Regions from separate parts of the Homo sapiens genome. Here regions 1, 2, 3, 4, 5 and 6 are each linked to region 7. The links are contacts of gene promoters, found by promoter capture Hi-C in blood cells and fetal thymus (Javierre and others, 2016). All regions are on one chromosome and are shown on one strand. Each heading gives the region's core, a stretch centred on a gene start or on the middle of the fragment in contact. The rest is flanking DNA. Distances are from core to core; before and after follow the strand shown. Region 1 overlaps CARMAL (coronary artery disease region linked MFGE8 regulatory lncRNA). Region 2 holds the start of LOC124903573. Region 3 has its middle 59 kb from the start of ISG20. Region 4 overlaps CARMAL (coronary artery disease region linked MFGE8 regulatory lncRNA). Region 5 has its middle 5.3 kb from the start of CARMAL. Region 6 has its middle 37 kb from the start of ISG20. Region 7 holds the start of HAPLN3 (hyaluronan and proteoglycan link protein 3).

Region 1 (3,414 bases), core at 1-2,500, 180 kb after region 7:
GGGGGGCAAGAGCGAAACTCCATCTGAAAAAAAAAAAAAGAGTCACCTGAAGATCTTAAACAATTCTGATGCCAGTGTTCTTTCCCAGATCAAATTAAATCAGGAAAGCTGGGAGTGAGACCCAGATGCACTGTTTTAACAAATTCCTCAGGGGATTCTAATGTGTCACCAGGTGGAAAACCACTGAAACACTGAGCCATTCTCCTTATCTGAAAATGAAGACTGAGGATTAAGTGTAATGGAAATGAAAGAGTCTGGCATAAGGCAGGCACCCGAAGTGGCTGCTATGACTCCTCCACTTTCTAGCCTTCCCTTCCATCTTAGAGGAAGAGCTGCCCCCAGGCCTGTATGAGGTTCACCTGTCTCCAACCCCTCCCCAACAAAGAAAAGAACCTAGCTTGCTTTGTCATTTTCTTCTGGAACATTGCCTCTCACCAGCGTCTCAAGTCTACTTCCACTAGCTCTTCCCTATCTGTCTTTTAAAATATGCTGAACTCCGCCATCACTCAATCTTGCTGTCATCCTGTTTCCTGCCTCATATCACTGATAACATTTCTCAAGCAAGTGGCCTACAGCGGTACCAATTCCTGGCTTCTCCTTAACCCTCAGGAGAAAAAGCCTCATTCCCTTCACCCCCAACCCTAAACTTTAGTACAGAGACACCCAAAGTTTATCAAAAGTGTTTGAATGGCCAAACCCAGAGGCCTTTTCTCGGTAATTCTTCTCTTTCAATTCAATTGAACAAGCGTGTTTTAGTGCCTACTATCACTTGGGTACAAAGAGGAATAAGTCACCCTCCTTGGCCTCAAGGGGTAGGGCTTGGGAGCAGCTATCATGTAAGTAAGGCAATACCTGAGATAGGAACTGTGAGGTAAAGTGTGAATGATGTGGGTTCTGGCCCCCAGCACTCAGCCTTATCATAGGTCTTTGCATCTACATCTATTAGGAATGGATGATTGAATGGATGAATGAACTCCACAGGAAGATGAGGAAAGCCTTTATGGATGGAGTGAGCTTGCAGCAGAGTCTCAAAGGGTGAGTAGAGTTTTCCAGGTAGGGAAGTGTGTGGGTGAGTAGTCCAGATCGAGTCAAAGGTATGGGAGCAAGGAACGGCCTGGTGCATTCCAGAAGTGTTGATAATGTCACTGGCTGACTCGGAGGGTGTGAAGGGGAGGAGAAGGAGGGAAGGCTAGAGAGGGAAGGTAGAAAGGAAGTGGAGGCGAAAAAAGATGCTGAAGGGCCTCCTGTACCTCCAGGAAGAGTTTGAATGTTATCATTTGGGCAATGGGAAGCTATTCCTGGGTCTTCACAAGGGAATCAGTTGGTGAGAACTGCTGTTTAGAAAGACAGCCCTGGCAGCAACTCAAGCGCTGGGAGAGGACAGAACCACCAGGGAAGAGGGTATGGGGAAGAAGAGCAGCAGGCTGAGGACAGGCCCAGGACTGAAGAATCAGGCACAGGAAGAAGAGTCCATGGGGCAGGCTGTGAAATGGACAAAGGAAAACCAGAGGTGCTTCCCAAGCAGGGGGCCTGGCCACCAGAGTCCCAAGCTACCAAGATGTCAAGTAAAGAAGAACTGAAAGCCAACTGCTGGATGCAGCAGTGAGTGGGGGTCACAGTGGCCTTTGCCAGAACTGTTCCAGTGGAGGAGTAGAGGAAGAGAGAAAACCACAGGAGCAGGCATCGCAAGCTCATGCTCCACCCACACGTCCCCTTTCTCCTTTAGTCCTGTGACCCATGTGCTTGCTCTCTTTCTCTCTCAAAGGAGATCCAAATTTAAAAATATGGAGCCAAGGGAATCAGTTCCTTTGCGAACACACTGAACGTTAGTTTTCTTCTTCTCTTTTGCAAAAACTTCTTATTTCACAAAATACTCAAACAAATAGACAAAGTACAGTGAAGTCCAGGTAGATATCATCCACCTTCAGCAATGATCAATCCATGGCCAATCTTTCATCTCAACACTCGTATCCTCATTCTTGTGGAGCAAATGCCAGACATTCTTTCATCCATCAGTATGTCAATATGTATCTCTGAAATAGAAGGACTTTTTATAAAACATAATCATAATATAATTAATATTCATTCCCCAATTGTTTTGTTATTGTCTTTTACAGTTTAATTTTTGTTTTGTTTTGTTTCGTTTCTTTTTGAGACAGGATCTTGCTCTGTTACCCAGGCTGGAGTGCAGTGGTGCGATCATGACCCATTGCAGCCTCTACCTCCTGGGCTCAGGTGATCTTCCCACCTCAGCCTCCCAAGTAGCTGGGACTACAGGTGCATGCCACCATGTCCAGCTACTTTTTTGTATTTTTGTAGAGATGAGGTCTCACCATGTTGCCCAGGCCAGTCTCAAACTCCTGGGCTCAAGTGATCCACTTGCCCCAGCCTTCCAAAGTGCTAGGATTACAGGCATGATCCATAATACCCAGCTACGGTTTGTTTTCATTTGGATGCTAATAAGACCCATACATTCCATTTGGTTGATCTATCTCTTCAATTTCTTTTAAATTTATAATTTTATAAGGTCCCCTTCCACATTTTTCTTTGTGGAAGAGGAGAAAAGACCCTTGTTCTCTGGATCACTCTGTGGTTAAGGGGGTAGGTCCTCAAATCAGATGCCCTGGTTCTATTTTGCTTTCTTGTTTTTTAGTACTTTTTGTTTGTTACCTACACACAGAAAAGTACATGAATCATAAGTGAGCAGCTTGATGAATTTTCATAAGTGAACACACCTGTGTAACCACCACCCAGCTCAGGAACAGGGCATCACTGGCACCCAAGAACCCCCTCTCAGGCCCTTTCCCAGTCTCTACCACCTCACAAAGGTCAGGTGACTTTTTCACACCACAGCCATGTGTTACCTCTTTTTGAACTTTATATAAATAAAATCATAGCATACATTTCTTGGATGACTGGCTTCTTTCACTCACCTTTATGCTGGTGGCATGCTTATCGTAATGATTTGTTCATTCCCAATGCTGCATAGTATTCCATTGAATATGAATGTTCTACAATCTGTTTATCCATTCTAGTGTTGATGGACATTTGGACAGTTTACAATCTTAAGCTATTACGAATGGTGCTATTGTGAATGTTATTGTCCGTGTGTTTCTTTGGGTACATACTTAAGAATGAGAATTATGCATGCTCATGTTGCCAAGGTTTTAATTTTGGGTTTACTTAATATCACTTTTGTGACCTCAAGCACATTATTTTACCTCTCTGGCCTCAGTTTCTTAATCTGTAAAACAGGCATAATCATATTCACCCTGTGGAGTTATTGGGAGGATTAAATATTTAAAAAAATCTAAAACTCTTAGAATCGTGCTTGTCTCTTAGTAAGGGTTTTATAAATGTTAGCTGTCAACCCTTCCTCCCTTTGTGGTGGTAACTTCTCAAGCTCCTTCACTG
Region 2 (3,475 bases), core at 835-3,334, 210 kb after region 7:
TCCCAGGTGGCAGAATTCAGCATCAGAGAGCCACACAGCTGAAAGAGATGGATGGGTGAGTGACCTCAGCTTTGCCCAGCTGGGGTGAGTGGGCCGAGCAAGTCTCTCCTTTGGCAAAATCATCTGGGCTTGTTCTCATCCCTGCTGAATTGGCAGGGGAGGAGAGGGTCGTGGCCCATTGGTCATTGGTCGGGTTTCCTCACAAATGCCTGCCATGGTGAAATGCAAGACTGTTAGAGTGATAATGGGCTGCACGTGTTAATGCTGTCATCACGGGCCCCACAGTGTGTATTAGCCAAGTACTGGGGGCACTGGGAGCCTTGTCTGCTCCCAGTCGGCGTTGGGAAACCAGAACGCTCAGGAACGGTGAGTCCCAGTTATTTTTATTTTCTCATTAACTGAGAGTAGCTGTAAGTCCTTTTCTGTTGCAGGTCTGGGTGAAACTTTCTTCTTTGCCTGCCTTAGGGAGTTAGATGGGTTGAGTGGTTCTTCAGGCAACGGTTGTGCCAGGCACTGGGTCTTGCCCTCCCACCCCCATCTCCATTTCCTCCTTCTGGAAGCTTATTTCCAGACATAGAAGAGTGGGTGGCATCTCTATGGTGCCCAGGACAATCAATCTGGAGATGCCCTCTTCTTCAGTTGTATCCTTCTCTTAAAAATTCCAGTAAACTAGGCACTTGAGCTCATTGGGTTCTGGTAAACTGCAATTTTGCTTCTGATATTACAGAATTTAATTATGGTGTAGATTTTTAAAAATATGTTTAGGATAAATCTCACAATTCATATGCCTGTTCTCTTAGAAAATCTAGAACCTCCCTAGAGGAAACACCTGGCGTAAGATTTTTTTGTTTGTTCTCAGGTATGGATTCATGGTTTCTCAGTGAAAGAGAAAACAATTTTGCCTGTGATTTTACTAAGTGCTTTACCCATTCGTTCTCTCATAGCCAGTACTATTCTTTCAGCAGGGTTATTTGCTAGTGGAAGAGGCCAGCTTCCTTTCAGTATTTTAGTAAGGGCACGTAAAAGTGCCCGATTAAATGTTCCTGTTTAACTGGTGACTCAGTCTTCAGACATTTTTAGTTTGGTAACTTTCTTTGTGGAAGCTCATGGGTTAGTAGCCATTCCTGACATTTAAATGTGAGGTTCACGTTTTCCTGCATTGGGTAACTTGACTCCCCCTGAGAACTTGTAGACTATTTTCTGAAATTCCAGCAGATTGAGTGTGTGACCTTATGACTTTGTGGAAGAAATATGGCTAAATAAAACTGTTATCACATGAGTAGGTTTGCACAGAAAGACAATTTCAAGGACTTATCTTGAATACAACAAAGGGCAACCTTGCCGTAAATACATTTAATTATCTGTCAATCCCTCCAGTTCTCTTCTACTAAATTGTGTGTGACTTGATGATCCCTTCACCTTGTAGGACCTGGTTTGTAAGAGATGGACTGGATCAACCAAGGGCTTTATCCTTCCTTGTTATGGTAACCCACTCCCGCCCTTTCAGGGCAGTCCCTGGCTTGAGTTAGTTAATGTTCAAAAATCAGTGTTTCTCAGCATCTCTGGAAAACAGGATTGGCCCTATTGTTTCCAGGGCTTTCCCATCCCTTCTGGCTTGAGGTGGTGGTGGTGGTGAGAGGAGGTCTTTTTTTTTTTTCTTTTAAACAATAGAGACGGAGTTTCTCCATGTCACACAGGCTAGTCTTGAACTCCTGGGCTCAAGCAATCCACCCTCCTTGGCCTCCCAAATGGCCAGGATTATAGATGTAAGCCACTGTGCCCAGCCGAGAGGTGGTCTTTTAAAACCCAGAGTATTGGCCAGGTGCAGTAGCTCACGCCTGTAATTCCAGCACTTTGGGAGGCCGAGGCAGGTGGATCACCTGAGGTCAGGAGTTCGAGACCAGCCTGGCTAACATGGTGAAACCCCGTTTTTACTAAAAATGCAATAAATTAGTGGGGCATGGTGGCACCCACCTGTAATCCCAGCTACGCCAGAGGCTTGAACCCAGGAGGCAGAGGTTGCAGTGACCTGAGATTGTGCCATTGCACTGCAGCTTGGGCGACAAGAGCGAAACTCCATCTCAAAAACAAACAAACCCAGAGTATTTGAGCACCGTGATGACTCCATTCCACAGAACCCTCTGTGGGAGGACACGTGGTCCTAGACCAACACCGATTTGCTAAAAGGTGGGTCTGTGAGCTGCTGGCTAAGGTGCTCACTCACCTCATTAGACCTTACCGAGAGTGAGAACAGGGCCGGGTCGCCAGGGCTGTGCAGTTCCCGAAGCCTCCTGGCTATGTTCTGAGGCTCTCCCATCCCATGGCAGTGAAAGACTCAGAGGACACAAAGGCACAACTCAGACGGGGATGGCTAGGCCTTCTCCCCAAAATCATCTGGGCTTGTTTTCGTCCCTGCAGAATGGTTTTTTTCCCCCTATGATGGCTCTGACTAATTTAGTTAAATGGCAGATAAAGTGGGGAGAAGGTGGCCCATTTCCTCCTTACTTTCTCTCCAAGGGTGTCATGTTGCCCACATTTAAGGTTGACCACTTTTATCTGGTGTAGCAAGTTCAATAGTGACCCTCCAAAATTTATGTCCCATCTGAAACCAGTGAATGTGACCTTATTTGGAAATTGGGTCTTTGCAGATGTAATCAAGTTAAGATGGGGTTGTACTTTTATCTAAGCTGCCACCAAAGAGGCTGAAAAATCAGAATGACATGGGATGGAAACAGACCATGTTTTTGGGGTGGTGTGCTGTGGCCTTCTGCTGTCCTTCTCCTGACATCCTCACAGGGTACTTTGGGGGACAAAGTTTTATCTCAGGGCATTACAGTTTGCTGGGAGATCCAGGCTAGGCAAGAGGGGATTTTTACCTGCAGGGAAGAATGGGTAGTCTTTCCATGGGCAGGAGAAGCCCCTCAGCAGGAGAGGGGTGGTGTCAGGAGCAGGGGTTCCAGCTGTGCACTGCCAAGGATGCATTTTAGCACAGAAAACAAGAACAATGCATCTTGGAACTGTTTATGGGACATGATGATCACCACTTAGTATCCAGTGATTTATTAAGTCTAACATGGTTCCATTTTAGAAGATATGGTTCCATTTTAGAAGAATCAAGAAGAGTATGTCCTGGAATTAATTTTAAACTCATTGGAGGAGGCCCAAGCAGTTAATCAGCTAGTGAGTTCATTGCTAATGAGACTTGTGTGTCAGTTAGGAAGGAGTATGTTTTGTGGTCGTTTCTATCTGTCAACTTAGGTTGTTTACTGAGGCAAAATGGAGGAAAGTTTAATAGTGGAGATGGTAATAGCGAATATTTTGCGGTAGTACCCCAAAATATTAAAAATACGGTAGTATTGTATGCCGGCATTGTTTTAAAATGCTCTTTATGTATTAACATGTTCAGTTTACAGATGGTGTTCAGAGGGATTAAGGAACTTGCCCCAGGACAAACACTGTGGCTGGATTTGGCACT
Region 3 (3,212 bases), core at 541-3,040, 200 kb before region 7:
AGGCAAACGGAATCTTGAGGGTTTGATTTTTACGGCCGTATAATTTTTGCTTGGAGGCTTGTTTGTTTGTTTGTTTCTTATGGAATTTCTCCATTTGGGGACAGTCTTCCTGAGACCTCCTAAGCTCTTTATTTGGAAAAAAAGAATTAAAAATATATTTTTTGTTAAACACGTAGAGGAGAGAGGCTTATAGTCATTTCAATTGGGAGGCCAAAACCACTGAATAGAGGAATGTGTTTAGAGGAGACCAGCCAGGAATTAGATGAACCACAGTGAAGACCAGCAGACGATTTCTAAATTGACAAAGCAAGGAGCTCTCTCTTTGTACTAACGGGCTCAATTATTTAGAGTTCTGGAGGCTCCACATTGCAAGAGCTCTGAAAATTCACCTAGACCAACTACCCATTTGATGAGATCTCCTTTCCTTCAGTCCTGGCAATGCTCATGCATTCTCTCCTTCAATTCTATGTTGTTATAACTCAGTTGAAAAAAATCTTCTTAAGTTCTTAGACTGAGCTGAAATTGGCCTCTCTGTAACTTATATCTGCCACTGGCAGGTCTGTTCTCAGGAGGCCCACGTAGGGAAAAAGCCAAACCCTAGTCCAGGTTAGCTTGGACACACCTTTTGTTACAACCCTTCAAGTCTTTGCAGGCAGCTATCATGTGTCTCTCTCTTCTGGCGAATTCCCTCGGTTCTTTTCCCATTCATCGCCTGTGACATTTCCAGACCCTTCACCATCCTGGCCACTTGCCTCTGGGCATGTTCCAAATTGTCAGCTTCTCTCTTACACTGTGGCAGGGGCCCAGACATGATGCTTCCGAGTGCTGTGTTGATGGCCTCATGGACGTAAGGACACGCCCAAGCCCAAAGCTGCAAAGCCACATTCAGATGTCACACCAGAAACTGGCTATGGGAGTACATCCTGCCCCGTTGTGTAGGATAATCTTCAAACAGCTGGCAAACACTGTAGAGCGTGTTGTCTACCATGAGACCCACATGCCATAGATCCTTAAATGTGTCAGGTTATAATTGGAAATGATTTCTTTTTCATTCAACAAATACTTAGTATTAATCTTCTAAGATCCTCTCACCGATCATAAAGGAAAGGCCGTGGAGATGTGACAATGGCTCAGAAGGATATTACATTGAATGATCTACAAAAGCCTGATTGGCCCAGGTGTGCAGGTTCTAAGCAACTTTGGAAGAACTCTGCTTAGATCAAAACAGCATAGCCACAGATGATTTGAGGTGTGAGGAAATGTATGGAAGCTTGACTTCATATCCCTTGGTTTACAGATAGGCAACTGAACTCCAGAACCTGTCATTCATCCACTTAGCCATTCATCTGTCCATCCTTTCAGCAAATGTATTTATTGAGCAGCTACTATGTATAAGATAATGTTGAGTTAGGGAGAGTGCAATGGAAACAGCAGTACAAGATAAGGAGTGATAAGTAACTCACTAATGTTGGATAAAGAGCTCTGGTTGAGTGATCTGGCTGGTTAGCACCAGAGCAAGAACCAGAAACTAGATCTTCTAACATATAGCACAGAATTCTTTCTTACTATCACTAGCAAGTGATACATGATGCATGATAGAGCCCGTGCTCTATTTCCAGGGACCCTGTCCTGAGACAATCCTATTTAGACATTTCAGGCTATATGACTGTAAGTGGCAAATGTGATGGCTGGATACAATCAGTGTTTCACCCGTGCAAAGCAAGATGCCTCAACAATCTAGAGGGAACATAGACAATCCTTCCTTAGTCCCTTCAATCATGACTTCCCCTTGTCAACAGTTTACCAAAATTCTCTCCTGGGATTCACCAGACAGCAAGTCCAGTTTGTTTTTTTCCATTTTCCTTCCCTTTGAGCGCCACAAGAGTTGAGGGTAATGCCCTTCTCCACGGGTTCTCCGGAGGCTTCATGCTTCCCTTTCCACTGCCCTCATGTCCCTTATCAGCTCCTAAACCGTGAACACCCTCAAGGATCTACCTGCCTTCATTCCCCTTCTTTTGCTTTAATATCTCTCCTTTGAGGACTGACACATTCGTAGAACCTTCACTATCATCTCTATGTATTGAAATTTCCAAATCTATATGCACATCTAGACAAGGGTCCCTCTCCCAATCTCTAGCTGCAAGCCAGATGTTTCCCCAGCTTTCCTTCCCTGGCTTCAAACTCAACAGGTCTCAAACCAAGTCATCGTTGCCTGATCTCCACTCCCCTCCATCTCCTTCCCCAACCCGCAACTGGCAGCTATCCCTTTCAGGCTCGTTCTCTTAGTTCATCAGGCTCAAAACACGGACATAAAGCTTAGTTTCTCTCTCTTGTTTATATAAGTTATTCATCTAGAAAAAGTCACTAGGGATTCTTCCCTCAGATCAGTTTAATTTTATCCCTCCATCCATCCTTCCATCCTTTCCAGAACACTCCACTTTACTCTGGGATGAGTAGGTCACGTTCCAGGGAAGCCAGAGCCCTGTTCTCAAGCCCAGAACAAGATCTTATCTCAGCTAAGCTTGCTGGCACAGGCAGCTGTGCCCAGCCTGGGTGTTCCAGGCCTCTCACAGACCACCCCCAACCCCTTGCCCACCCTTCTTTCACCGGTGAGTACAAGACCATCACCAACAGCAAGTGCTGGGCCATGCTGGCACACAAAGAGCTCTCCCCTTGCTGGGGAGCAGACGGCACTCTTTCTCCTCCGGATGGGTCCTCTCTCTCCTGTGACACATTGAGCCATAAGCTGAAATCAGATCCAGTTTTACAATGGACAGCTGGGAGCTCAGCGCTCTCCAGAGCTCAGCACCCTCCAGCCCCTGCCCATGCAGTCCATTCCCAACCCCTTCCTCTGTAGCCTCACCTCCCCACCCTCTACCTCTACCCCAAATGTCGGCACCAAGACCTCCTCTACGGTTCTTTTCAAAGAGGGGAAGGGATGAGGGGGCTATAGATCAGCCCAACATCGTTCACCTCCCCAGGAGGATGGATGCAAATGCCCAGGAGAAAACTCTTTTTAGACAGCATGGGGGCACATGGAGCGACCAGCATCCCAGCATAATCAGGTGCCTGTGTTAGGTTTGTCAGTCTGAACCCAGTTATATGAATATCTGCATCCAGGTTCCTGGATTTTCCAGAAAGTCTGAACTGAGAAGACCCTCAAAAACCAACCAATGCAATCCACCATTGTGCAGATGGGAGAGCCAAGGTTC
Region 4 (3,533 bases), core at 827-3,326, 160 kb after region 7:
AAATGTAGTTTACAAACTAATTGTGTAATGTGATTTTTGCTTTTTTGTTTTTACAGACTGGGTCTCACTCTGTCATCCAGGCTGGAGTGCAGTGGCGTGATCACGGCTCACTGCAGTCTTGACCTCCCGGGCTCACACAATCCTCCTGCCTCAGCCTCCTGAGTAGCTGGAGTCACCATGCCCAGCTAATTTTTAAAAATATTTTGTAGAGACAGAGTCTGCCTATGTTGCACAGGCTGGTCTCAAACTCCTGGCCTCAAGCAATCCTCTGACCACAGACTCCCAAAGTGCTGGGATTACAGATGTGAGCTGCCACGCCTAGCCTGATTTTTGCTTTTAATTAAAATTTTGTAAATGGAGGTGGGAATCCCTCTACGAATTTTTAATTTGTAACTATTCGTATCTTCCTAGGGAAAATAATAGGAAAAAAACTCACAAAACTGTTAATATTGCTCACCTCAGGAGATGGCATTGGAGATATTTGCTTAGTTACAAGAATATGTATGGATTTTGCAACTTGAATGACACAGTAAGAAAGAACACCATGCCCCAGTGCAGGATTGTGGCAGGAATTTGAATCTTTAATTCCTTCAGGCACCGGGCACAGATCGAGACCATCCTGGCTAACACGGTGAAACCCCGTCTCTACTAAAAATACAAAAAAATTAGCCAGGCATGGTGGCAGGTGCCTGTGGTCCCAGCTACTCAGGAGGCTGAGGCAGGAGAATGACGTGAACCCGGGAGGTGGAATTTGCAGTGAGCCGAGTTCGCACCACTGCACTCCAGCCTGGGCGACAGAGCAAGACTCCATCTCAAAAAAATAAAATAAAAAAATAAAATTCCTTCAGGGTGCTTGCAAAAGATAGAACAGTGCAATGAAAAAAATCAGACCCAGCAGCACTACTTATTACAACATGACCTTGAGTGAGTCATTCACCTCACTGGGCCTCAGTTTTCTTGTCTGTAAAATGGGACAATAGCAATCTCTACCTGTCAGAGTTTGTGTGCAGGCAGTCAGGAAATATAGTCAGTAGGCATTAAATTTTTTTCACACTGTTAATCCAGTTTATAAGTGATACCTTTTTTTTTTTTTTTTTTTTTTGAGATGGAGTTTTGCGCTTGTTGCCCAAGCTGGAGTGCAATGGCGCCATCTCGGCTCACTGCAATCTCCGCCTCCCGGGTTCAAGCGATTCTCCTGCCTCAGCCTCCTGAGTAGCTGGGATTACAGGCACACGCCACCACGCCCGGCTAATTTTTTGTATTTTTAGTAGAAATGGGGTTTCACCGTGTTAGCAGGCTGGTCTTGAACTCCTGACCTCAGGTGATCCGCCTGCGTCAGCCTCCCAAAGTGCTGGGATTACAAGCATGAGCCACTGCGCTAGGCCAGCGTGATACCATTTTTAAAAGTGTTAAGTGAAAAGGGTAAAGGATCTATTGAAGCCCCTTTGTAAGCATGTGAGTTCTGCTTGAGAAGCCACCCCCGGGTTAGCTCTTCTAAGCTGCTCATAGCTAATTCCCTTCCTTCATCTCCACTTCCCTTTGGGGTTTGGCGCAGTGATGATGGGGTTTCTGAAGATGAGGTAGGGCAGGGGTTACACAGTGACCACTGGGAAGTTGGGGACTGGCCGCCTCTGGAACTCCAAGGATTGATTTTCATGGTTAGCAAACAGCTGAGAGTTCTTTGGGAAGCTTCAATGGTGAAAATGCTATTTTTGGTAAGAGGGTAAGAATACAGCCCCTTCTTGTTTAGCCATGGTCGTGGAATCACGGTGGGGGCGTGCCTGGTGCATGGGCTCCTGAGAGGCAGGCCCCGTTGGGCTCACCCCCATTCCTGCTGCCATTCCCTCCATGGCCTCAGGGTGGCGCTGCTCCCTCTCCAACTGGGGCCATCTATTGCCACCATGCGGCTTCCCAGTGAAACCCGCTATTAATAAGAAGGAATGAAAAAAAAAAAAGAAAGAAACAAACCTGCCAGAACTTTCCAATCACACTGTCCTAAAAGCTGAGGACTAAGAAAACGAAGATAGATTCAGGGGACACCGTGAGTCAAAACTTTAGTTTGCCAGGTCTGACTTCTTTCCTGCAGCTCTTCGCCCTCTACCCAGTCCATCAGGGACCCCAGGACTAGGACTCCCTAGCTCCCCACTTACAAATTAAGCCCACCAACATTTGTGGGGCGCCAGGCAAGAGAACGAATGGAAGCTCACATACTCTATGTCTGCATATTTTCAAGTTGTTCAGTCAAGCTGATAAACCCTTAAATGAAGTATGCTCCATCCTTCCGCCTTGAGGTAGATACCTTCATAACCACCTAAAAGACCAGGTTGACTTTTAGGATTTTCAGCCTCCTTGGAGATCCATTCCCCTGGCTCTCCACTTCTGGCCCCAGGTCCACCCACCCACGCTCATCCTTTCAGATCGTGAGGAGCCTCACATACGTGTGGATACTCCAGCTCACACATCCAAGCTTCCTCCACACCCACACCCCTTACAACCCTGAAAACAGCTACCCCTTGGCCACTCCTAGTACCTAGCATGTGAACACAGGTAGTGAGGTCCACTCTTGGGAAGAGAGACCTAGAGAAAATGAAGATGCCCCGCAGGCACAGAAGAGGGCTTGCTGTAATTTGGACAGAAACTCTGGGGTCCTGGTACACGGAGCCTAGTCTTGGGTGGGTGTATGGACTCCCTTTGTAGAAAGGAACATGGCCCGAGGAGGTGCACAGCAGGAGCTTCTCCTGCTCTGGGCCCAGGGGATGGGGACAAGGAGAGATGACATCCTTAACTCCCTCCATCCCTCAGGAGTGCCCCTGGACATCGAGACTCCTGGAAATCTGGGTTGTGACAGGCCAAGTCCCTTCTTAATTCCTCTTTCCTGCTGTGGAGCCCCCTCATGTCCAATGATTGGCAGCAGGAAAGACCTCACTCTTCAGACAAGACCATAGTATCTGCCCTTGAAGCCTTTCTCTTTCAGCCCTCAACAATATCTCAATAAAAACAGCAATCCAACGTTGGACAGAAGCCTGCAGTAATGGGTGGTGGCGCAGAAGCCATCCTTTCAAGGGCACAGAGTGCCATTTCTCTCTCAAGGGATGGATAATTCCTGCCTTAATGCAACCTTCATCTGCCTAGTCACCAGCTGATGGGAAAGCAGCTCCAGCGAAAGATAAGGGCTCTTTGCCTGAAATGAAAAATTCATGAAGGAAGACTAGGAATGGGGCACGCAGAGAGCTGCCAAGTTGCTGTGCTCTGAGGACCTGACAAGAAGCTCAAAAAGCCAAATGGAAATTTTCTCTCCTCTCCAGCATCTCCCATCATGCCCTCTTCCATGTTTGGGGCTCTCTTCTCTGCTGTACCTGGTCACAGCTCTGCAGTCTCACCAATGCCCATATGCCAGGGGATCCAGGAAGAGGGGTACATCTGCCCACCCAGGCGAGCCACTTGACACCCACTCACATCCTCACAAAATGTTCGCTGTGGCTAGACAAGCTGGCATGGTTCTGACCACCTACCTGCCTAGACCAGACCTGGAG
Region 5 (3,092 bases), core at 224-2,723, 140 kb after region 7:
AAATTACATTAAAAACAGTGTCTACTATCACTGAGTAGTACACAAGTGATTCAGAGATTTGGGGTTTGGGTCCTGGGATTACAAAATAGAAGATACAATGAAATATCTCCCTCCCATTTATTCTCTAGCCATCCAGTTCCTACCCCAGAAGCAGCCTATTTTGTTACCATATTTCATTGACTTCTAAGATATACATGTTTTTTCACATTTTAACATCTCTGAAATCAGGATGTGTCTTACAATAGCTGTCAGCTAGGTGGCTCTCATCACATTGATACCATTGCCTGCACTTGAGCAAACTTGGCTATAGCTTTGGTATTGTCATCATTTCAAATGATTTATGTGCATTGTTGACGCTACATGCGCTGACTTTACTTGCTATTTAAAATATCTTCAAAAAGACGGTACTATCAGCATTTAAATGAAAGGTCACTGTGGATGCAGAAAGTTACAGAAACAACAGTGAGGTGCAAAATTGATATTAGTGAAGCGAATTTATGAATTGTTAGAGTAATGATTTCCATTCCATATTTTCTTGCAGAGCAACCATTGAGAGGTTTTCAGCAGCAGTACCTCTCTGACTGCAATGTGCACACAAATCCGCTGGGATCTGGATAAAACACAGATTTTGATTCACTAAGTCTGGCATGGGTCAGATTCCACATTTCTTTTTTTTTTTTTTTTTTTTTTTTTGAGATGGAGTCTTGCTCTGTCACCCAGGCTGGAGTGCAATGGTGCGATCTCTGCTAACTGCAACCTCAGCCTCCCGGGTTCAAGCGATTCTCCTGCCTCAGCTTCCCAAGTAGCTGGGACTACAGGCACATACCCCCACGCCTGGCTAATTTTTTGTACTTTTAGTAGAGACAGGGTTTCACCATGTTGGCCAGGCTGGTCTCGAACTCCTGACCTCATGATCTGCCCACCTCCGCCTCCCAAAGTGCTGGGATTACAGGTGTGAGCCACGGCGTCTGGCCTCAGATTCCACGTTTCTAACAAGCCCTCTGGTGATATTGATGCTGCTGATGCATGCTTGGTCCATTTGAGGACCCCAAAGTGGAAGATACCCAAAAGAGAAAAAGGAATGTTACCTACTCAAATTCATGCCAGACAATGCAATTTAAGACTGGGGAAATTGCCAGATCTCTCAGAATAGATGCAAGAAATTTCAAAGCCATGAAGGGCTGGTGTGATCAATCATGTGTCATGCAAGGCTGTCGTTATGGCATCATGTCATATAGTTAACTGGCAGTCTTTTTTTAAATAGACTTTATCTTTTAGAGCAGTTTTAGTTCACAGCAAAATTTAGAAGTACAGAGCGTTCTCATACACTCCCTGGCCCTACACATACACAGCCTCCCCCACTATCAACATTCTGCAACAGAGAGGTAAATTTGTTATAATCAATGAACCTACATTGACACATTATTATCACCCAAAGCCCATTTCTTTTAGTGCTGAATAATATTCCATTGTCTGGAAGTACCTATAGTTTATTTACACATTCACCTACTGAAGGACATCTTGCTTGCTTCCACATTTTGATGATTATAAATAAAGCTGATTATAAACATCCATGGGCAGATTTCTGTGTGGACACCAGTTTTTAATTCATTTGGGTCAATACCAAGCAGCACAATTGCTAGTTCATATGGTAAAAGTATATTTAGTTTTGTAAGAAACCGCCAAATTAGGCTGGGAGTGGTGACTCATGCCTACAATCTCAACACTTTGGAAGTCCAAGGTAGGAAGATCACGAGTCCAGGAGTCTGAGACCAGCCTGGGCAACATAGGAAGACTCTGTCTCTACAAAATTTTTGTTTTAGAAATTAGCCTGGTATGGTAGCACATGCCTGTAGTCCCAGCTATTCAGGAGGCTGAGGTGGGAGGATTGTTTGAGCCCAGGAGTTAGAGACTGCAGTTAGCCGTGATCTTGCCACTGCACTCCAGCCTGGGTGACAGGGCAAGCCCCTGTCTCAAAAAAAAAAAAAAAAAAAAAGAAAAGAAACCATCAAATTGTCTTCCAAAGAGCCTGAAGAACCTGTAGCATTTTGCGTTCCCATCAGCAATGAATGAGAGTTCATTCATTCACACTGATTCAATGAGATGACCCAAATCCAGAACACTGACAACACTAAATGCTGGTGAGGATGTGGAGCAACACACGTGTTTGGGTCCTCGCATTGTTGATCTAATTTGAAGTTCCCTGATGACACATGATGTGGAGCATCTTTTCACATGCTTACTTCATTTGTAAAATCTTTGGTGAGGTGTCTGTTCCAGTCGCTTGTCCATTTTTCAGCTGGGTTGTTCATTTTCTTATTGTTGAGCTTTAACAGTTCTTTGTATATTTTGGATAACAATCTTTTATCAGGTGTCTTTTCCAAATACTTTTTCCCAGTTGGTGGCTTGTCTTCTAATTCTCTTGACAGTGTTTTTCACAGAGCAGAAGTTTCTCTAATTTATTGAAGTCCAATTTATCAATGATTTCTTTCATGGTTAATGCCTGTGGTGTTGCATCAAAAAAGTCATGTCCATACGCAACATCATCCAGATTTCCTCCTTTGTTGTCTTCTAGAAGTTTTATAGTTTAGTGCTTTACATATAGGTCTGTGAGCCATTTCGACTTCATTTTTATGAAGGGTGCAAGGTCTGTGTCTGAATTCTTTTTTTTTTTATTTGCATATGGATGTCCAGTTGTTCCAGGACCATTTGTTGAAAATACTGTCTTTTTTTCCATTGTATTATCCTTGCTCCTTTATCAAACATCAGTTGAGTATAGCTATGTGGGTCTGTTTCTGGGCTCTCTATTCTGTTCTATTCATCTATTTGCCTATTCTTTTATCAATATCACAGTCTCTTGATTACCGTGGCTTTATAGTAAGCCTTGAAGTTGGGTAGTATCAGTCCTCCGACTTCTTCTTCTTCTTCAACATTGTGTTGGCTATTCTGAATCTTTTGCCTCTCCGTTTAGCAGTCTTTTTTCTTTCTTGTGCATGCAACAATGGTATATCTTATAATTGAGGGCATCTTAGATCTGATGAAATATGAGAGTTCCTCATGGATATTTCTAGAGATATCTTGTGCCTATAAAA
Region 6 (3,166 bases), core at 624-3,123, 220 kb before region 7:
ACAGGTGTTTGGTATGTTATTTATATGCATCTCACGTATCCAATATATAATTATTTTTAAACAGCAACAACAAAGCAGTGCTATTCAGAGAGGGTGACTGAAGGCCCAGGGTCATGGAATATAAAAGATGGGACAGAGCTTGAATGCAGACGTTAGCCTGGGGAAAAGGAAGGAAGAATAGTTCTGACCATACCAATGGGAGAGGGGTTAGAAAAGGTGGCTAGAGAGATATTTTGAATTGTAGTTGGAAAAAGTTGAGAAATTACAAGTTGAGAAATTTCTCAACTTCTTGTTGGCGGAAAATAGAGTTGGAGTTCTGGCTGAAGATAGGGAAGTTATAGGAGTGTATTTTTCCCTAGGGCTGTTGTAACAAATATCACAACCTTGAGGGCTTAAAACAACAGAAATATATTCTCTCACAGTTCTGGAGGCCAGATCTAAAATCAAGGTGTTGGCGAGGCCAGCCCCCCTCTGCAGGCTCTGCGGTGAATCCATTCCTTGTCTCTTCTAGCTTCTGGTGGCTGCTGGCATTCCATGGTGTTCTTTGGCTTACAGCAGCATCATTCCAACGCCTGCCTCCATCTTCACATAGCCCTTTCTGCATGTGGTGACGTATAATCTCCTTCTGCCTCTCTTTCATGGGGAGACTTGCAATAGCATTCAGGACCCACCCAGATAATCCAGGATTAGCTCCTCATTTCAAGGTGCTTAATTTAATAACATTGACAAAGTTCTTTCTTCCAAGTAAGGCAACATTCATAGATTCCAGGGATTTGATGTGGATATCTTTTGGTGGACCATTTTTCAGCTTGCCACAGAAAGTGATTGGATTTAAGGAAACAAATTATTTTTTATTGCTTCCCAGGAGAAATTCAGTAAGAAGTCAATAAAAGCAGAAAAATGGTTGCTGAATATCAATGAGATAGATCTGAATCAACCAACATGAATTTTTTTAATGTGATTTTTTTTTCAACAAGCTCAAATGTCTATTTTCTGTGATTTTGTATCAATTTTGTATCAAATGTCTTTTTATTTTCTGTGATTGCTTTATCACTTTGATCAGCAAGAAAACAGAAACATTTTATTAACAAATTTGTAGATTTTAGGTGTGGCAGGTAAAAAGAGATATGGAGAAAAATGTGTTGAATAAATATAAACCAATTAAAGCTTGGGTTGCAAATTTAAATTCTTAGAAATAGAATTTCAAGTAACAAACATCATAAGGGACAAAGAGGCATTTTATGGATTAATAAAAGGAACACAGACCAAGAAGACATAAACATAAACATATATGCATCTAGCAATATAGCCCAGGATTATATAATGCCAGGCAGTCCAAAAGAACTTTCTGCAGTGACAGAAATGTTCTATATCTGCATTGTTCAATACAGTAACCACTAACAACATGTGGCTGCTGAACACTTGAAATGTGGCTACTGTGACTCAGGAATTGAAGATTTAACTTTAATTAATTCAGACTTATTTATTTATTTTTTGAGACAGGGTCTTCCTCTATTGCCCAGTGGCAGGATCATGGCTCATTGTAGCCTCCACCTCCTGGACTCAAGCAATTCTCCTGCCTCAGCCTCTCAAGTAGTTGGGACTATAGGCGTGCATCATCATACCCGACTAATTTTTTTTAAATTGTTTGCAGGTCTCACTATGTTACCCAGGCTGGTCTCAAACTCCTGGGATCAAGTGATTCTCCTATGTTGGACTCCCAAAGTGCTGGGAATACAGGCATGAGCCACTGTGCCCTGCCAATTAAAATGTAAATAGCCACATGTGTCTACTACCTACTACACTGGACAGTCTTGATGAAACAACAGCTGGAAGAATCATGAACAGAACTAAATAAAGCAACAATAATAGTTGAAGATAGTAATATACTCCTCTCAGAAGTGAACAGACTAAGCAAACCAGAAAGATAACTCTGAGTTGGTATTGGCAGATTCCTCCACAATAATAACCTTTATTGTCTTTGCTTTTATTTCCTATTTTCACCCCCAAATTTGCACTGTTTATTGTTTAATAACAAATAGACATATTCCTTTTTTTTTTTTTTTTTTTTTTTGAGACAGTATTGCTCTCTCGCCCAGGCTGCAGTGTGGTGGCACAATCTTGGCTCACTGCAACCTCTGCCTCCCAGGTTCAAGCAATTCTCCTGCCTCAGCCTCCCAAGTAGCTGGAATTACAGGCTTGTGCCACCACGCCCGGCTAATTTCTGTATTTTTAGTAGAGATGGGGTTTCACCATGTTGGTCGGGCTGGTCTTGAACTCCTGACCTCAGGTGATCCCCCACCTTGGCCTCCCAAAATGCTAGGATTAACAGGTGTAAGCCACCGCGCCCGGCCAGACACAACTGATTTCATTCACTGTCATCATGACTCACGTTTTATCATGTTTTAGGGATTTAAAAATATTTTTCCCCTTTAAGACCCTGAGTCAATATTTGGATGTTCCATTGGATTGAGGTCAAGAAACAGTAAGTTCCACCCTCAGCACACTCTTCACTTTCATATGTTCCCATCACTCCAGCTCCTCTCCAGCTACTGCCATATCTCCCCTTCCCCTCACAGTCAAGCTTTACCCCAGGGCAGCCTGTATTTACTGTATTGTCTTTTCTTCTCCTTCTGAATTTCCTGGTGTCTGTCCTCAAGACTTCACTGAAACTGCTCTAACCTGCATTCTCAATGACCTTCCAATACTCAAATCCAATGGACACTTTCCAGTGCTTATCCTGTGTGATTTCTCCGCAGCATATATTAATGTCAACCACAATCTCCTGGAACTCTCTTTTATTATTATTATTTTTTTGTATAACCAGCCTCTCCTTCTTTCCAGCTCACTCTCTACCCCTTTGTAGATCCCTCTTCTGCCTGCCACTTAAATGTCAGCATTTTCTTCTTAGCACTTCCTTCTCAGTCATCTCTGTTTCTCACTCTGCCTTGTCTCACTGGGAAATTTTACTTAAGTCTATAACTACAATCACTCCTTTAGCTGATGATCCACCAGTGTCTTTCTTAAGTTCTAATCTTTTCAACTGGACAATCTGCAGGCATTTCAAACTCAACATGTCCCATACTCTTACACAGCCTCACCGTTCCCATTTTACCTTTCTCATGTATTTCTATCTTGACTTCAGGACTTTCTCATCCACCCAAGT
Region 7 (3,392 bases), core at 739-3,238:
GGCTCCACCCACTTACTAACCCTCTGTCATTGGACAAGTCGCTGCACCTCTCTGAGCCTCAGTTTCTTCATCTTTAAAATGGGGGTCACAAGCCAGGCACAGTGCCTCATGCCTGTTATCCCTGCACTTTGGGAGGCTGAGGTGGGCAGATCACCTGAGGTCAAGAGTTCAAGACTAGCCTGGCCAACACGGTGAAACCCCATCTCTACTAAAAATACAAAAATTAGCCGAGTGTGGTGATGAGCGCTTGTAGTCCCAGCTACTCGGGAGGCTGAAGCAGAAGAATCGCTTGAACCCAGGAGGCGGAGGTTGCAGTGAGCCGAGATTGAGCCATTGCACTCCAGTCTGGGCAAGAAGAGTGAGACTCCATCTCAAAAAAAAAAAAAAAGTTGGGGTGGGGGGGGCGGTCACGACAATACCAAACAGAAAACACTCTCGTGAAGATTAAGGGAGAGAATAGCTGCAGAGCACTGAAAATACTGCTTGATGCTTGATAAGGAGCAAGCACTGGGAAAATATGACCTGTTACTACTCTGGTGAGCAGTTCACACAGTGAAGTCTTACACCATCTCAGTGGCTCTTTCTCCTCTCTCACTGCCTACGAGACAAAGTGGTCACCACTGCCTCCTCTTCACAGTTGAGGAAACTGAGGCCAAGAGAGTGGAGGTCAGTGAACTACCCAAGGCGTTATCTTTGTCAAATATCTCGAACTTAGAGAAAGTTCAGGTTTCCTGATGACCAGCCCTTTGCTTTTCCCAGGCGCCCCAGCCTAGGGACCCCTCCACCCAAGAACAATAAGCCTGGGCTTGGAGGGAGGGTAGGTGCCACCTCCCTGCCAGGTGCATGTCCGCACTGGGCCTTCCGTGAGTACAAGTCCCCCAGGTACCAGCAGGAGGCAGCATCGCCCGCGAGGTCTGCACGAGCGCTGCTCCCAGCGAGAAATTTGACATCCCTGTCCCTGTTTGCACAAGGCTTGATCTCCGCCTTTGAAACCTGCAGCCCCCAGGAGAATGAAAACCGGAGGTGTTTCCCAATCCGCTGGCCCGGGCGGCGTCGAGGGAGAGAAGCCAGGGCCCCTCTCAATCGCTGCCCCCTACTCCAGGGAGCACAGGCACTCCCGCGGGTCAGCGCTGGACACCAAGGTCCCAACAGGTTTACAGGCTGCCTGTGGCCTGTGGCTGCCAACGAGCTGGTGGCAGGACTGGGTCCAAGTGCCGTGCTGTTTCCATACTGGCTGCGCACAAGCCTACGTTTCTCCCTGAGGGTCGCCATCTCCCACCCAGGGCTCTGCCCTCCACCCTCCCTACCCTTCTGGCCTCGCTGTCCCTGGGGCAAGAACCCCGGTGAGCGAGGTCTGGAACCCATAGGCATCAGTTGCCTTTGCCCCAGGCGCCCAGAGCCGGCCAGCTGCGGTCCAGAGGCGCAGGTCCGCCAGCCGCCTCGCAGGTTGCCCTCAGCCCCTCCCAGGACTCCCGGGGCCCCCGGAGCATCCAACAGATACCCAGGGGCAGGGCCTGGGGCGCCGCGGACGGCACTGGAGGCAGCCGACCCTGGACAGACGACAGGGGAGAGAGCCAAGCGGACCCTGGCAGGAAGGGGGCTGGAGGCGGACGGTGGTCTCGGAGGCCACGGGGTCCGCTCGGGCTCTGCTCCCTCACGGTGGGCACGAGGGTCCGGCGCCCGCATCCCCGCGCCGCTCCCTCCCCACTTGTGCCCCGGGCGCCCCTCGCCCGCGATCACAGCCCATCTCAGCCCGGGCCTCCGCAGTGCCCGGCCCACGCCTCCTGCCCCTTCCCCGGACCCTGCCCGGGAGGTGTGGGGACCCGCAGGGCACCCAAAGCGGTAAGGGAGGAACCCGGCCCGCACACAGCCCCAGAAGCCCAGCGACCCCTAAGCCACGTACCGTCCCCAGGCAGCTCCTCGACGGCTAGAGCTCTCGGGGGCCGCGAGCTGTCCCGGTCCAAGGCAGCAGTCTGATTTCGGGGAAATTAAAAGGGCAGAAAGGAAGCGGCAGCAGAAAAACCCCCGCGCTCCCGCCAGACCAGCCCCTTAAAGGAACACGCGCACCTTTCCCTCCCAAGGGCTGGGCTCGAAGGGAGGAGCTGCTGCAGGCTTGAGCGGTCTCCAGACTCGCTGGGAACCACCGCAAAGAGGGTGTGCAAGAGTTGAGGCCCTCACGTCTTGGGAAAGGAGAGTAGGGGTGGAATAGGAGAGTTTGGGGAGGGGGGATCCCCTTAGAAAGCCTGGTATACCAAAAACAGTGGGAGTAAGCAGGGGAAGCCCCTGTCCAGCATTCTGCTAGGGGCTAAGGCTGCTCCCCACCTTTGATTGTGGAAGGGGTGAGACTTCTGTATTACTTTCTTTTCCAAATAGAAAGCAAGGGGGTGAGGCCAGGTGCAGTGAGTGGCTCATGCTTGTAACCCCAGCACTTTGGGAGGTGGAGGCCGGTGGATCACCTGAGGTCAGGAGTTCAAGACCAGCCTGGGCAACATGGTGAAACCCTGTCCCTACTAAAAATACAAAATTAGCTGGGCGTGGTGGAGCATGCCTGTAATCCCAGCTACTTGGGAGGCTGAGGCAGGAGAATTGCTTGAACCCAGGAGGCGGAGGTTGCAGTGAGCTGAGATCATGCCATTGTGCTCCAGCCTGGGCAACAAGAGCAAAACTCCGTCTCAAAAAAAAAAAAAAAAAAAAAGCAAGGGGTTGCTGATGTCCTCATGCCCCTGAGTTTGGCCATCATGAAACACTGGCCAGATTCCCAACTCACTGTCAGGCACATAGCAGGTGCTATCCCCAGCACATGGGGCTTGAATGAGTGGCCCTGGCTGGGAGGGGAGACACAGGGTGGGATACCTCTGCAGCCTGCAGGGGCAATCAGGCTTCTGAGTGGTCCTCCAACAGGGGTGGGCCTCCCTTCGGAATCCTGCTAATCAGCACAGCCATCCAGGCAGCCGCTCAGGATGCCTCTGTTTGGACAGGGTGTTTTCTTTCCTGTCCAGACCAATGGGGGCCCTGGCCTGGACAGCCCGATGTTTCCTCAGCAGAAAAGACTAAGGAGGTCCTTCAGCTTTGGCTGGGGGAAGGGTCGAAGGGTCACAGGGTCACAGAGCTCAGAGCCTCTTCCTAAACACAGCTCAAGTTGGCCCATGAGTGTGTGTGTGTGTGTGCATGTGTGTGTGTTACACACAGCCAGGGGCACATTGGAGCACAAAGAACTGTGATCAACAGGTAAACTACACCTAAAAGGAACGCCAGGCTTGATGGGCAAAGGGGAGCCAAGGTAGGTCCCTCTGCAGGTTCCCGACAGGGGAGAGGATGGACAGTAGGGAGAGCACATTTTGCTACAGTTAAGTCGAGTTGAACATGCCAGCCAGGGGTAGGGGTAGCCAGCA

Evidence for each region. The method cuts DNA at HindIII sites, captures the fragments that hold promoters and counts their contacts. A CHiCAGO score of 5 or more calls a contact.
Region 1: a fragment that was not itself captured here is called in contact with the fragment with the promoter of HAPLN3 in region 7 in 2 of 17 cell types (naive CD4 T cells and total CD4 T cells); the score reaches 5.3 in naive CD4 T cells.
Region 2: a contact is called between a fragment that was not itself captured here and the fragment with the promoter of HAPLN3 in region 7, in 3 of 17 cell types (naive CD8 T cells, naive CD4 T cells and total CD4 T cells). The highest score is 6.4, in naive CD8 T cells.
Region 3: a contact is called between a fragment that was not itself captured here and the fragment with the promoter of HAPLN3 in region 7, in 1 of 17 cell types (total B cells). The highest score is 5.2, in total B cells.
Region 4: a fragment that was not itself captured here is called in contact with the fragment with the promoter of HAPLN3 in region 7 in 7 of 17 cell types (naive CD8 T cells, non-activated CD4 T cells, total CD4 T cells and 4 more); the score reaches 11.0 in naive CD8 T cells.
Region 5: a fragment that was not itself captured here is called in contact with the fragment with the promoter of HAPLN3 in region 7 in 5 of 17 cell types (naive CD8 T cells, total CD4 T cells, activated CD4 T cells and 2 more); the score reaches 7.2 in naive CD8 T cells.
Region 6: a contact is called between a fragment that was not itself captured here and the fragment with the promoter of HAPLN3 in region 7, in 5 of 17 cell types (naive CD8 T cells, naive B cells, total CD4 T cells and 2 more). The highest score is 8.6, in naive CD8 T cells.

What each region holds. Positions count from the first base shown.
Region 1 is chr15:89,074,350-89,077,763 of GRCh38, forward strand. It overlaps CARMAL (coronary artery disease region linked MFGE8 regulatory lncRNA), which reads left to right. Exons shown (of 4, transcript NR_183882.1): 3 at 947-1,035. It also overlaps a transcript of ABHD2 not described here. Among named protein-coding and RNA genes, the nearest start is that of ABHD2, 12 kb to the right of the region's middle. The HindIII fragment of the contact is 5,614 bases long and covers 1-3,414 here.
Region 2 is chr15:89,104,216-89,107,690 of GRCh38, forward strand. The region is part of intron 1 of ABHD2 (abhydrolase domain containing 2, acylglycerol lipase); the gene reads left to right. It overlaps LOC124903573, which reads right to left and starts at 2,317. Exons shown (of 7, transcript XM_047433432.1): 1 at 2,225-2,317. The coding sequence starts at 2,317. The HindIII fragment of the contact is 3,052 bases long and covers 559-3,475 here.
Region 3 is chr15:88,696,701-88,699,912 of GRCh38, forward strand. No RefSeq gene overlaps it. Among named protein-coding and RNA genes, the nearest start is that of ISG20, 59 kb to the left of the region's middle. The HindIII fragment of the contact is 1,045 bases long and covers 1,269-2,313 here.
Region 4 is chr15:89,055,829-89,059,361 of GRCh38, forward strand. All of the region lies in intron 1 of CARMAL (coronary artery disease region linked MFGE8 regulatory lncRNA), which reads left to right. It also overlaps a transcript of ABHD2 not described here. Among named protein-coding and RNA genes, the nearest start is that of CARMAL, 17 kb to the left of the region's middle. RefSeq lists an enhancer at 3,507-3,533. The HindIII fragment of the contact is 778 bases long and covers 1,688-2,465 here.
Region 5 is chr15:89,034,153-89,037,244 of GRCh38, forward strand. No RefSeq gene overlaps it. Among named protein-coding and RNA genes, the nearest start is that of CARMAL, 5.3 kb to the right of the region's middle. The HindIII fragment of the contact is 6,015 bases long and covers 1-3,092 here.
Region 6 is chr15:88,674,221-88,677,386 of GRCh38, forward strand. No RefSeq gene overlaps it. Among named protein-coding and RNA genes, the nearest start is that of ISG20, 37 kb to the left of the region's middle. The HindIII fragment of the contact is 1,417 bases long and covers 1,166-2,582 here.
Region 7 is chr15:88,893,556-88,896,947 of GRCh38, forward strand. HAPLN3 (hyaluronan and proteoglycan link protein 3) reads right to left here and starts at 1,989. Exons shown (of 5, transcript NM_178232.4): 1 at 1,904-1,989. RefSeq lists an enhancer at 1,215-1,826. The HindIII fragment of the contact is 19,838 bases long and covers 1-3,392 here.